Linked DNA regions of Homo sapiens: all the other regions are linked to region 2. Evidence: promoter capture Hi-C in human tissues and cell types (Jung and others, 2019). All regions are on one chromosome and are shown on one strand. Each heading gives the region's core, a stretch centred on a gene start or on the middle of the fragment in contact. The rest is flanking DNA. Distances are from core to core; before and after follow the strand shown. Region 1 overlaps LOC112268152 (a long non-coding RNA gene). Region 2 holds the start of C15orf62 (chromosome 15 open reading frame 62). Region 3 overlaps INO80 (INO80 complex ATPase subunit).

Evidence for each region. Contacts are between HindIII fragments. The study calls those that stand out against the background at their distance.
Region 1: a fragment that was not itself captured here is called in contact with the fragment with the promoter of C15orf62 in region 2 in 1 of the 25 tissues and cell types used here (aorta).
Region 3: a contact is called between a fragment that was not itself captured here and the fragment with the promoter of C15orf62 in region 2, in 1 of the 25 tissues and cell types used here (IMR-90 fibroblasts).

Annotation. Positions count from the first base shown.
Region 1 is chr15:40,317,072-40,320,585 of GRCh38, reverse strand. It overlaps LOC112268152 (a long non-coding RNA gene), which reads left to right. Exons shown (of 3, transcript XR_002957721.2): 2 at 3,093-3,190. Among named protein-coding and RNA genes, the nearest start is that of INAFM2, 4.9 kb to the left of the region's middle. The HindIII fragment of the contact is 9,874 bases long and covers 1-3,514 here.
Region 2 is chr15:40,768,112-40,771,961 of GRCh38, reverse strand. C15orf62 (chromosome 15 open reading frame 62) reads right to left here and starts at 1,982. Exons shown (of 1, transcript NM_001130448.3): 1 at 1-1,982. The coding sequence starts at 1,466. The coding sequence ends at 939. All of the region lies in intron 10 of DNAJC17 (DnaJ heat shock protein family (Hsp40) member C17), which reads left to right. RefSeq lists enhancers at 849-1,465, 1,423-1,512, 1,466-2,084, 2,703-3,321. The HindIII fragment of the contact is 9,899 bases long and covers 1-3,850 here.
Region 3 is chr15:41,098,748-41,102,476 of GRCh38, reverse strand. The region is part of intron 1 of INO80 (INO80 complex ATPase subunit); the gene reads left to right. Among named protein-coding and RNA genes, the nearest start is that of INO80, 16 kb to the left of the region's middle. The HindIII fragment of the contact is 3,775 bases long and covers 1-3,635 here.

The sequences.
Region 1 (3,514 bases), core at 813-3,312, 450 kb after region 2:
AAGCTCTTGATCCTGGTTCTGCTCTGTCTCATAGGCAAAGCTAGACTTTGTCTCTATAGTGGATATTGGGGGTTACTACCCGGGTCAGCCTCAGGAGGGAGGTGCTCATTCTTCCAATTGTCAGGAGTGTTGGCTATGATGGCTCAGCTGCAACTGTCACTGGGACTTGCCTTCTGACACCAAAGGAAGCTGCCTCTCTGTCCTGGCCTACAAGCCCAATACATAGAGCCAGATCACAATAAAGCCCAGTCAGAGATGTGCAGGGGCCCACTAGGGAAGAAGGCTAGACCATGAAGTAGTTGCGGAAGTAGCCAGTATATACTGGCAGGATCCAGGAGCGAATGTATAGGCTAGATCAAGGTGGGGTGTGGTGCCACACATTAAGTTGAACAAGGGATACTTCGTTGTTATAGGAGTATTCTCCTGTGAATCAGGATGTGATATCCTGACAAGGATCCTGGGAGACAGGAGGAAGGCAATGGCCACCAGAGTGTAATGGAAATGCCAGAACTACCACAGCAGAATGTGGAAGAAGGGTTCAAAAGCTCACAGAAATGGGTATATTCTATGTAAGGCCAGAAACCACTTAAGTTCTGCAGGAAGGCCCAGAGGATACTCTAGTTACCAAAGCAACAAGGAACACACTGGTGAGAGCGGTACCAGCATCCCTGAGAAGCTGAGTTTGGACTGTCCTCTGTAAGCCATGCCTGACAGCAAGAGGCCATTCCAGAACTGGCTCCAGATAGCAGTGGGGATGATAGGACCATGAAATCATAGAAGCTAGACAGCACAACTGTTGTAATAAGCAGCAAGTTGGAGTGGCAGTGGGGGCAGTCCTGGCCAGTAGAGGACCATGGTTGAAGATGGTTGATAGCATAGCATCCCTGGAGCAAGCTAGCTAGGCAGCCAGTAACAGTACTGCTCTATCTATACCAGTGATTCTCAAATGTTTTAGTTTCAGGATCCCTTTACACTCTTAAATATTGAGGTCTCTAAGCCTGATGTGGTGGCTCGCACCTATAATCCCAACTACTTGGAAGGCTGAAGCAGAAGGATCACTTGACCCCAGGAGTTCAAGATCAGCCCGGGCAAAATAGTGAGACCTCATCTCTACAAAAAAAAAAGTTGAAAATTAGCTAGGCAGGGTGGCACATGCCTGTAGTCCCAATTACTCGAGAGGCTGAGGCAGGAGGCTCGCTTGACCTCCGGAGTTTGAGACGGCACTAAGCCATGATCATGCTACTGCACTCTAGTCTGGGTGACAGAGTGAGACCTAGTCTCTAAATATATATATATGTATGTATATATGAGAGAGAGAGGTATCTAAAGGGATTTTGTTTATGTGGGTTATAGCTATTTTTATTTGACATATTAGAAATAAGACCAAGGGTTTTGCAAAATATTTATTAATTTGTCTAAAGAATAATAAGCCCCACTACATGTTAACATAGATAATATATATTTTATTTATTTATTTATTTATTTATTTTCCAAGACAGAGTCTCACTCTGTTGCCCAGGCTGGAGTGCAGTGGCATGATCTCGGCTCACTGCAACCTCCGCCTCCCAGGTTCAAGCAGTTCTCCTGCCTCAGCTTCCCGAGTAGCTGGGATTACAGGTGCATGCCACCACACTCGGCTAATTTTTGTATTTTTAGTAGAGACAGGGTTTCACCATGTTGGCCAGGCTGGTCTCGAACTCCTGACCTTGTGATCCACCCGCCTCGGCCTCCCAAAGTGCTGAGATTACAGGCGTGAGCCACTGCACCTGGGCAGATAATATATTTTTATGACAAAAAATAATGAAAAGAGTGGCTTTGCTTTGTAAATTTGCAAATCTCTGGAATGTAGAAGACAACTGGATCCTCATATCCACTTTTTTTTTTTTTTTTTTTTTTTTTTAGACAGGATCTCACTTTGTCACAAGGCTGGAGTGTAAGTGGCGTGATCTCAGTTCACTGCAACCTCCACTTCCCAGGTTCAAGCAATTCTCCCACCTCTGCCTCCCAAGTAGCTTGGGACTTCGGATGCACACCACCATGCCTGGCTAATTTTTGTATTTTTTTGTAGAGACAGGGTTTTGCCATTTTGCCAGACTGGTCTCAAACTCCTGAGCTCAAGTGATCCACCTGCCTTGGCCTCCCAAAATGCTGGGATTACAGGCATGAGCCAACATGCCTGGCATCTCATATCTGCATCTACATTTAATCTGCTGGCAATTTGTTGTTATGGTTAAAATATATGAGGAAAATCCAGCCTCATATAGACATGTAGTTGGAAAAGAGAGGAACATTTTAACAGCCTTTTCAGATAATTGTGGCTGTTTTTCTTTGATGCTACACCAAAACCCAACAAGCAGTATTTTCTTAAATGGTGGTTGAAATGTAGACTATAAAACTATATCAGTGAACTTTTTTTGTGCTCAATTACATTAAAGTCCATTGATCTAACTTGCCCTTTGAATGGCACTTTTACCCATGCATGATTTTATAATATCCCACGTTGATCATTTGGAAAATATTGGTTCACTGAATTAAACATATCTTTGCAATATTGATACATTTCATTATATAATAGAAAAAATCACATTTGATAATATTATAAAAAGTTTAAGTATCAGGAATCTAGGAAGCTCATGATAGTGCATACATGTTTTCTAAAATTCTAGTTTTTACTTGAAAACTCAAATTTTGTAATTGGTAACAAACACTATCAGTTATTTTTTTCTCAAAGTGACAGGCTCACTTGGTTCAAATGTGAGAAAACATCTGCCAAATAGCCAAGTCTGCATAGCCATGGTTTTTCAGTTCTTCTTTCAAGTAAAACTGGTGTTCCATGAAAAGAGCAGCTAATTGAGCTCACGACCCAATCGCAAAAGTACTTTTCCCCAAGAGAACCGTTATACTTCCATATGCAGTAGAGTACTTTCATTTAATCACATGGAATATTAAAAAGACATCTATTTAAGGGTCATAACTTCATACAATTTAACAATTGATATCGTTTTGTTAAAGATATTCTAAAGTAAAACGACTTTTCTCCCTTCCTTTTTTTTTTCTTTTCTTTCCTCTTTCTTTCTGCAATGAACTACTAGTTCAGTTTGGTGTCACTGCCTTGGTTGTTTAAGGTGCCAGAAGTTTTACCCACCATTGCTTTAGCACCATCAGTGCAAACGACAACACAGTTAAAAAGGTAAATAACATGTTAGTATTATTATGAAAGCAATTTTGACCTTGTGAAACCCCTGAAGTGATCTCAGGGACCCCAAGGGGTCTGGAGACCACACACTGAGAATTGCTGAGCTGTACAATTAAAATAAATCAAGGATGAAAGACCAGGAGGTTGATGGCAGCTGCTCCAATAAAAAGTCACAATATCTTGTTTGGTTTCCAGTCCCAATTCAATTTTCAGTTCAGGTTCCCAGGGGAAAGGTTTCTGCAATACTATAGCAATACAGTAATGATTTCCCCACTACTTCCCTAAAGGGAACTATGCCGTTTACCTGGGTAACTGTAC
Region 2 (3,850 bases), core at 733-3,232:
TCTAGAGCTGCCTTCCTTCACCAGGGATTGCTCCGGGTAGCTGTGTTGGCAGACTGAGCCACGTCCTCATTTCTGCTAAGGATTTGCCTGGTCTTTTTCCTGAGTTATACTCTATCTCTACCTATCTCTTCCTATGTGGCCAGCCCCTGTATGCGCCTCCCCTTTGCTGGTGGCTCCAGGCCATGGTCTAGACAGCGCTGTCCATTAGAACTTTGTGCAGCGATGTTTACGTCCATTCTGCACTGACCAGTGTGGTAGCCATTAATCATGTGTGGCCACCGGGCATTTGGAATGTGGAATCTGGAATAACGGTGCAGCTGAGGAACTGAACTGTTAATTTTATTTATTTCAATTCAGTGTCATGCAGTGAGTGGCCACCAGATTAGACAGGGTCAGGCCTTCTCCCCTTTCTTCCTGGGCCTTCCCACTTTCCTCTTCTGCCTGGGTTGGACTGCCTTTACCCAAGCTTGTCCTGTGACCTCTCTCTGTTGACAGTGGCTTCCAAAGAGGCTGGCATGGGGCACTCATCTCTTCTGCTCAGTCTGTGTCCTCCCACTCCCTGATCTGACCCCGTGCCACCTTCTGGCTCTGCCAGCCTCTACCTGGTTCCTGTAGTGCCGCACAGAGCCTCCCTTTCCCGGCACAGCCTCCCTTTCCCGGCATAGCCAGCTTTCTTCAGGGTCCTGCCAGGAAGGGCCGCCCCCCCAACATTTCCAGATTGCCTCTGTCCCTCCACTCTGGGGTGCCTGGAAGGACTGTCCAGGACCCAGAGAGCAGGCAGAGCCCTGGATTCCTATCCTGGAATCCTCCCCCAGGATGAAGAAGCTCTGCCTGCCTGAACCCTCCAGCGATGGGCCTGGAGTCCTGTCCCTGTCCTTTCCTTAATCCCCAGCCTCTGGATCTTCCAGTCACCCCGGCTTTGCCCACCCTCACCCCATTTAGAAGCTGGGCTCGCTAGGAAACTGCTCCCTTAGCATCTGCAGAACTTCCTCAAGAAGTGAAATCCCCAGGTCCACTTTGAAGGAGAGGAAGGGATCACTGAGGTCTGGGGTAGGTGTCCTCTGGAAGCAGGGAGTGTCCACAAGGCCCTTCTCTGAGTGCTGGTGGAGGGCACTCGACAGAGAGAGCGCCGATGGCAGGGTGGCAGAGTAGGCTGCTGTGTAGGCAGGTGGGGGCTCCAGGATGTTGGGGCAGCTTGAGCTCTCTCGGTAGAGGCGTGGGGGCTTGGGTGGGGCCAGCAGGGTGGCCCGGGGCTGCTCGTCCCCCCACAGTGGCAGGCGCCGGCCATCTGGCCTCCCTTGTAGCTCCCGGATGACTTCTCGGTTGCTGTACTCCTCGTGGTCCCCACCTGCTGTGCTGGCCTGGCTAAGCACACTACTCTGTCGCCGGAGCCGCCGTGGCCGCCCCAGGCTCAGCTGCTTGAAGAAGGAGGCGTTGCGGAAGGAGCCTTTCCGCCAGGTCTCCATGGGGCCCAGGGGAGCCAGCAGACAGGTGTTCAGGAGCAGCCAGGGTGCATGTGGTCCCTGCTGGGGCAGTGAGTGCCAGCAGCTGGGGAGGCTCCCCTAGGAGCAGAGGCCTCAGGGTTTCCACTCAGCACAGACCTTTGACCACATCTTGGATGGTGAGAGGAGGGCTCAGGAAGAAGGAACTTTTTTGCCCAGGAGAGCAGACAGCTGGGAGTTCCTGGCAGCAAGAGTTTCCCACAGGGACAGGAGTGGCCTGGTTACTGAATAGGGTAGTGGAAAAAAACCCAGGAGGAAGAAGCAGCACTTACTGGAGCCAGAATGAGGGCAGCTCCGGCGGAGGCAGAGGTGGACCTTCTCGGGCTGGGTGAGGCTGGCGAGCGCTCCTTCCACAGGCAGGCAGCAGATGGCCCGAGCTCACTCGCCCTGGTGTTTGCCTGGCTCCTATATGTCTCTGGGGCAGTGTGGGGCCGTGCCCTCTCTGCCAGTGGCTCCCGGACTCTGATGAGTGGCCTGGCTGTTTGTGGCGGTGGAGATGTGTTTTTGTTCTCAGCTGACTCAGTCAGGTGGGAAGCCAGGTTTCGTGCTCTTGGGTAATTGCAGCATCCGCGTGCAGGGATGGGGCAGCTGGGACCAACACCCCAGGGCAATGGGGAGCTTAAGATTCCTCTGGGGACTCGTGTGGGGGCAGCCCTGCTTTATGTGTCACCACGCGGCTTCCTTTCTGATCACAGCCCCACCACCCTGGGCCCCCAGCAGGTGCGCCTGGCTCCCTGCCCACAGTGTCTGGGTAGGAAGAGTTCGGGGCGGGTGGGAGTTAATTGAAAGGCAGGCGTGTGGAACGATTGTTGGGGAAGGAAGAGACCTGTAGCTGGTATGGGTGACTCAGCCCCGCTGTCAGGCCCTCACGAGCAGGAACAGGAAGGGGGGCAGAGGGTGTGTTAATGGGGAGCAGCGCCATGCCTGTGATGGGCGGGCTCTGCTGCCCAGGGTTGGGCTGGGGGCCCGCCAAGGGTGGCTCCAAGTTTTCTTGGCAGAGCAGCATTAACCTGGGGATGGGAGATGTGGCCTCCTCTTGGCCTGCCATCAGCCTGGCTGCTATTTCCTTGTCCTCCCTTGTTTTACCCTAGAGGGCTCCTGCCAGGAGAGCGGCTGCTGAAGGCCGGGCCGTGTTGCCTCCTACCTGGCTGTGCTCCAGCCCTTCCCCTCTGGCTACCGGGCTTCCTCTGGGGTCCTCCTTCTCTTGCAGGAGGCTGGGCCAGGGAGGCTGCCGTGAATTGTCAGCCGTGCTCTGGGCCAGGCTTAGCAGTCCGGCCTAGCTGGGACTGCTGCAGCCGGGGAGAGGGGAGGGGTGCAGCCATCGGGAGGAACAGGGGAACCCAGGCTGAGTAACACTTCCTGTTTCTCTACACCCCTTACTCCAAACCTGCTGGCCAGGGCCTGGCATCTCAACCCTAGCTGCTCCCTTCCTATTCCCCGGGTCACTGACCACCACATTTTCCTCCTGCCTTGCTCTGTGACAGCGTCCCCATGCGGGGTACCGCGGATCAGGGCCCCACAGCTCTCTGCTACGGGCAGGCCACCGCATCTTGCAATCCCTGGCCTAGCTCACTTCTGTGCCAACTCAGGTGTGCTTCACACTTCTCTGAGAAGCTGTTGGGACCACATGATCATCACACAGCCTAAGCGGCACCGAGGGAGGAAAAGGTTTAATTCCCACCGCAGACCTTATCAGGGCGTGGGTTGGCAGCTTAGGTCCCGCTGTAGAGCTGCTTCTCCACCCTACAGCCTTGGCCCATTCAGATGGTTGTTTATTATTCTTTTGATTATGGGCCCTGCCCTCCAGGAGCCCTGGTGTGTAGTTTTAGAGGCACGCTGGCCTCATGCTTGCCTTTTTCCCCTTCGAGGGTGGGGCATTCCGGGCTGCCTCGGGTAGGGCTCCCTTCTGCATCCTCAGCAAGAGCCAGACCACAGGGCACCGGGCATAGAGAGTGCCAGGGTCAGTGCCCAGCAGAGCCAAGTGCATCCCTGCTCCTCAGACAACTTCCCTTCCTTGGGAACCTAAGAGGCAGAAGCTACGGGGTAGAGGGAAAGGGGTGAAGGGTAAAGGGCCCAGAGGAAATGAAGGGAGACGAGGGCCTGGCTTAGAGGGCCCGCAGGTGATTCCTGAGAAACAGATGGACCGGAGCTGACGCGGCCTGGGGAAAGGGAGGGGGAGCTGGCTGGGTAGAAGCCGGCCTGGAGGCCAAAGGTGGCGTGTTCTGGGGGACACAGGCGAGCCAGGATTCCAAAAGGATGCTCCGGGTTCCTTCCCTTCCTCTGCCGTCCTCCCTCCGAGACTCTTAGAACGCAGCACTGCCTCGGCACCGTACTCGGAGTCTGTGAGG
Region 3 (3,729 bases), core at 499-2,998, 330 kb before region 2:
CAGGCTGGTCTCGAACTCCTGATCTCAGGTGATTGCCCGCCTCGGCCTCCCAAAGTGCTAGGATTACAGGCATGAGCCACTGCGCCTGGCCTAATATGCCCTTTTTAAAATCCTGAAATGAAATCTATAGGTAATATATAATTTTAAAAAGCAGTATGATGCCCTAATTGTAATATATTGGGGAAACATAAATAAAGTAACTTACACAGTATGTACTTTAAAATGCAAATGCATGGGCATGAACCCATAATAAGTGACATAAGACATAGTCGTATCTTCTTTTTTTGAGATGGAGTCTTGCTTTGTTGCCCAGGCTGGAGTTCAGTGGCACAGTCTTGGCTCACTGCAACCTCCACCTCCCAGGTTCAAGCGATTCTCCTGCCTCAGCCTCCTGAGTAGCTGGGACTACAGGTGCGTGCCACCAAGCCCAGCTACTTTTTTGTATTTTTAGTAAAGGCGGGATTTCACTGTGTTAGCCAGGTTGGTCTCGAATTCCTGACCTTGTAATCTGCTCGTCTCAGCCTCCCAAAGTGCTGGGATTACAGGCATGAGCCACCATGCCCGCCAAGAAATAGTCATATCTTTTGTACTAGTATGGAGAATCACCTTGACTAAGAGTTACAAATAGGCCGGGTGCGGTGGCTCACGCCTGTAATCCCAGCACTTTGGGAGGCCGAGGTGGGTGGATCACGAGGTCAGGAGATCGAGATCATCCTGGCTAACACAGTGAAACCCCGTCTCTACTAAAATACAAAAAAACTTAGCCAGGCGTTGTGGCGGGCGCCTGCAGTCCCAGCTACTCGGGAGGCTGAGGCAGGAGAATGGCTTGAACCTGGGAGGCGGAGCTTGCAGTGAGCAGAGATCTCGCCACTGCACTCCAGCCTGGGTGACAGAGCAAGACTCTGTCTCAAAAAAAAAAAAAAAAGTTACAAATAAAGTCTGTTTGTGTTGGTGACTCAAATATCACAGCAAGTAAGAGGAAACTATTGAGCTAAGGTGAAATAAAAGAGGATGGAATGATTTGCTCTTCAGGCTCTTCCAAGATGAGCGGGGAATGACTTCAGCATTTTGAGGAAGAGGGAAAAAAGATTTGAAGTAATCTTGGTAGAGAATGAGAAACAATTGGTAGAAGGTGGGTAAAAGGGTTATTGAGAATTATCAAGTGTTTTGCTGAAGTTGGACGATAACAGATGGGTCAGGTTGATGGCCATGCAGTTTCCTTGTAGGGAATAAGAGACAAATGAGGAGATGAAAGTGGTTATTGCAGCAGCAGCTTTTAACATGCTAATCAAGACTAGGCTGAATTGAGAGGCCAGCAATCTTAAAAGGTGATTAAGAAATGATTGTCAGCCGGGTGGGTGGCTCATGCCTATAATCCCACTACTTTGGGAGGCTGAGGTGGGTGGATCACTTGATGCCAGGCGTTTGAGACCAGCCTGGCCAACATGGTAAAACTCCATCTCTACTAAAAATACAAAAATTAGCTGTGTGTGGTGGGGTGCGCCTGTAGTCCCAGCTACTTGGGAGGCTGGAGGTGAGAGAATCACTTGAACCCAGGAGGCGGAGATTGTAGTGAGCGGAGATCACCCCATTGTGCTCCAGCCTGGGCGACAGAGGGAGCCTCTGTCTCAAAAAAAAAAAAAAAAGAAAAAATTGTGAATGGTAGTAATGGTTGCACAACAATGTGAATGTATATAATGCCACTGAAGTGTACACTTAAAAATGGTTAAAATGGTAAGTTTTATGTCTTTTGCCACCATAAAGAAAAAAATTGAACACTTAAAAAATATAACTTGGTTCTCCAGATGTCATCATAGGACTTCTTGTGGAGAATTTTGTGCTTACAGCACCTTTTTTTGGTGGTATTGTGGACATAAGGGAATTCATTGCAGCTGTCATTTCAGCCATCAGTGGTGATATGCTGCAAAGATGATTTCTGGGATGAATCAGTTGACAGGACTGATGTATACTGGGTGTCAAAAGGGAGCATATATTGAGGATTGTAAGACTAGAAGTTAACTGTGATCTTTCTTCAACAAATTGTTTTTGATTTCATACTCACATAGGTACTGAGGAATAAGTTTTGAAAATATTCCATTCATTGGCCGGGCACAGTGGCTCACACCTGTAATCCCAGCACTTTGGGAGGCCGAGGCGGGCGAATCACGAGGTCAGGAGATCGAGACCATCCTGGCTAACACAGTGAAACCCCGTCTGTACTAAAAATACAAAAAGTTAGCCTGGCGTGGTGGCAGGCGCCTGTAGTCCCAGCTACTCGGGAGGCTGAGGCAGGAGAATGGCGTGAACCTGGGAGGCAGAGCTTGCAGTGAGCCGAGATTGGGCCACAGCATTCCAGCCTCGGCTACAAGACTTTGTCTCAAAAAAAAAAGAAAAGAAAATATTCCATTCATTTCGAATCACTCCGTATTACTTGGTAGTCATACCTCCTTAATTAGTGTCATTTTCCTTATCAGGTAAAATAACTAGAGCATGGATTAATTGTTCTGTAATAAAAGCTTGGGATGGAGCCAAGCAGAGTAGTTTTACATTTATACATGTATCAAGATGAATTATTTGCTGTTCTCTTAAGGGAGTTTTGTTGTATTTTAAAAACCAATTTCTTTGAAATCTTCTGGAGTGGGTGGGTACACGTTAGGTCTCATTTTGAAAAGGTGAAATTTAAAGTTTTTTTTTTTTTGGATAGTCTCACTCTGTTATGCAGGCTGGAGTACAGTGGTGCGTTCATGACTTACTGAGGTCTCAACCTCCTGGGCTCAAACCATCCTCCCTCCTCAGCCTCCCAAGTGGCTGGGTTTACAGGTGCATGCCACTACACTCAGCTAATTTTTAAATTTTTTTGTAGAGACAAGGTCTCGCCATGTTACTCAGGCTGGTCTTGAACTCTTGGGCTCAAGCTCTCCTCCTGCCTCACCTCCCAAAGTGCTGGGATTACAAGCTTCAGCCACTGCTCCTGGCCAAAAGTATTTTTTAGCATTCTTTTTTCTTTATATTACCAAGACTGACAATTTACAAACTATGAAATTCACATAATTTAAATAAAATATACAGTTCAGTATATTTTGAATATATTTTTGGTAGATTTACAGAATTGTGGAACTATCGCCACAATGGGAGTTTGGAACATTTTTTTTTTCCCTTTTTCTTTCCCTCTCTCTCACTCTCTTGTTGTGTGTGTGTGTGTGTGTTTGTTTTTTTTTTTTTTTTTTTTTTTTTTTTTTGAGACAGGGTCTTACTCCAGGCTGGAGCACAGTGGCACAATGATAGCTCACTGCAGCCTTGACTTCCTGGGCTTAAGCAATCCTCTCACCTCAGCCTCTTGAGTAGCTGGCACTACAGGCACGCATCACCATACTTGGCTAATTTTTAAATTTTTTGTAGGGACACGGTCCTGCTATGTTGCCCAGGCTGGTCTCAAACTCCTGGGCTCAAGGGATCCACCCACTTCAGCCTCCTAAATGTTGAGATTATAGGTGAGAGCCACTGTGTCTAGCCTGTCTTTTTTATTATTCTAGTGGGTATGAAGTAGTATGGTGCTTTAATTTTAATTTATTAATATTTAGCATTTTTTCATGTGTCTATTAGCTAGTCATACATCTTTGTTGGTAAAATGTTCAAAATCTTTTGCTCATTTTTAAATTGGGTTATTTATCTTATAGAGTTGTAGGTTTTATGTGTACACACTGACAAACAACTGTGTAAAAAAAAAGT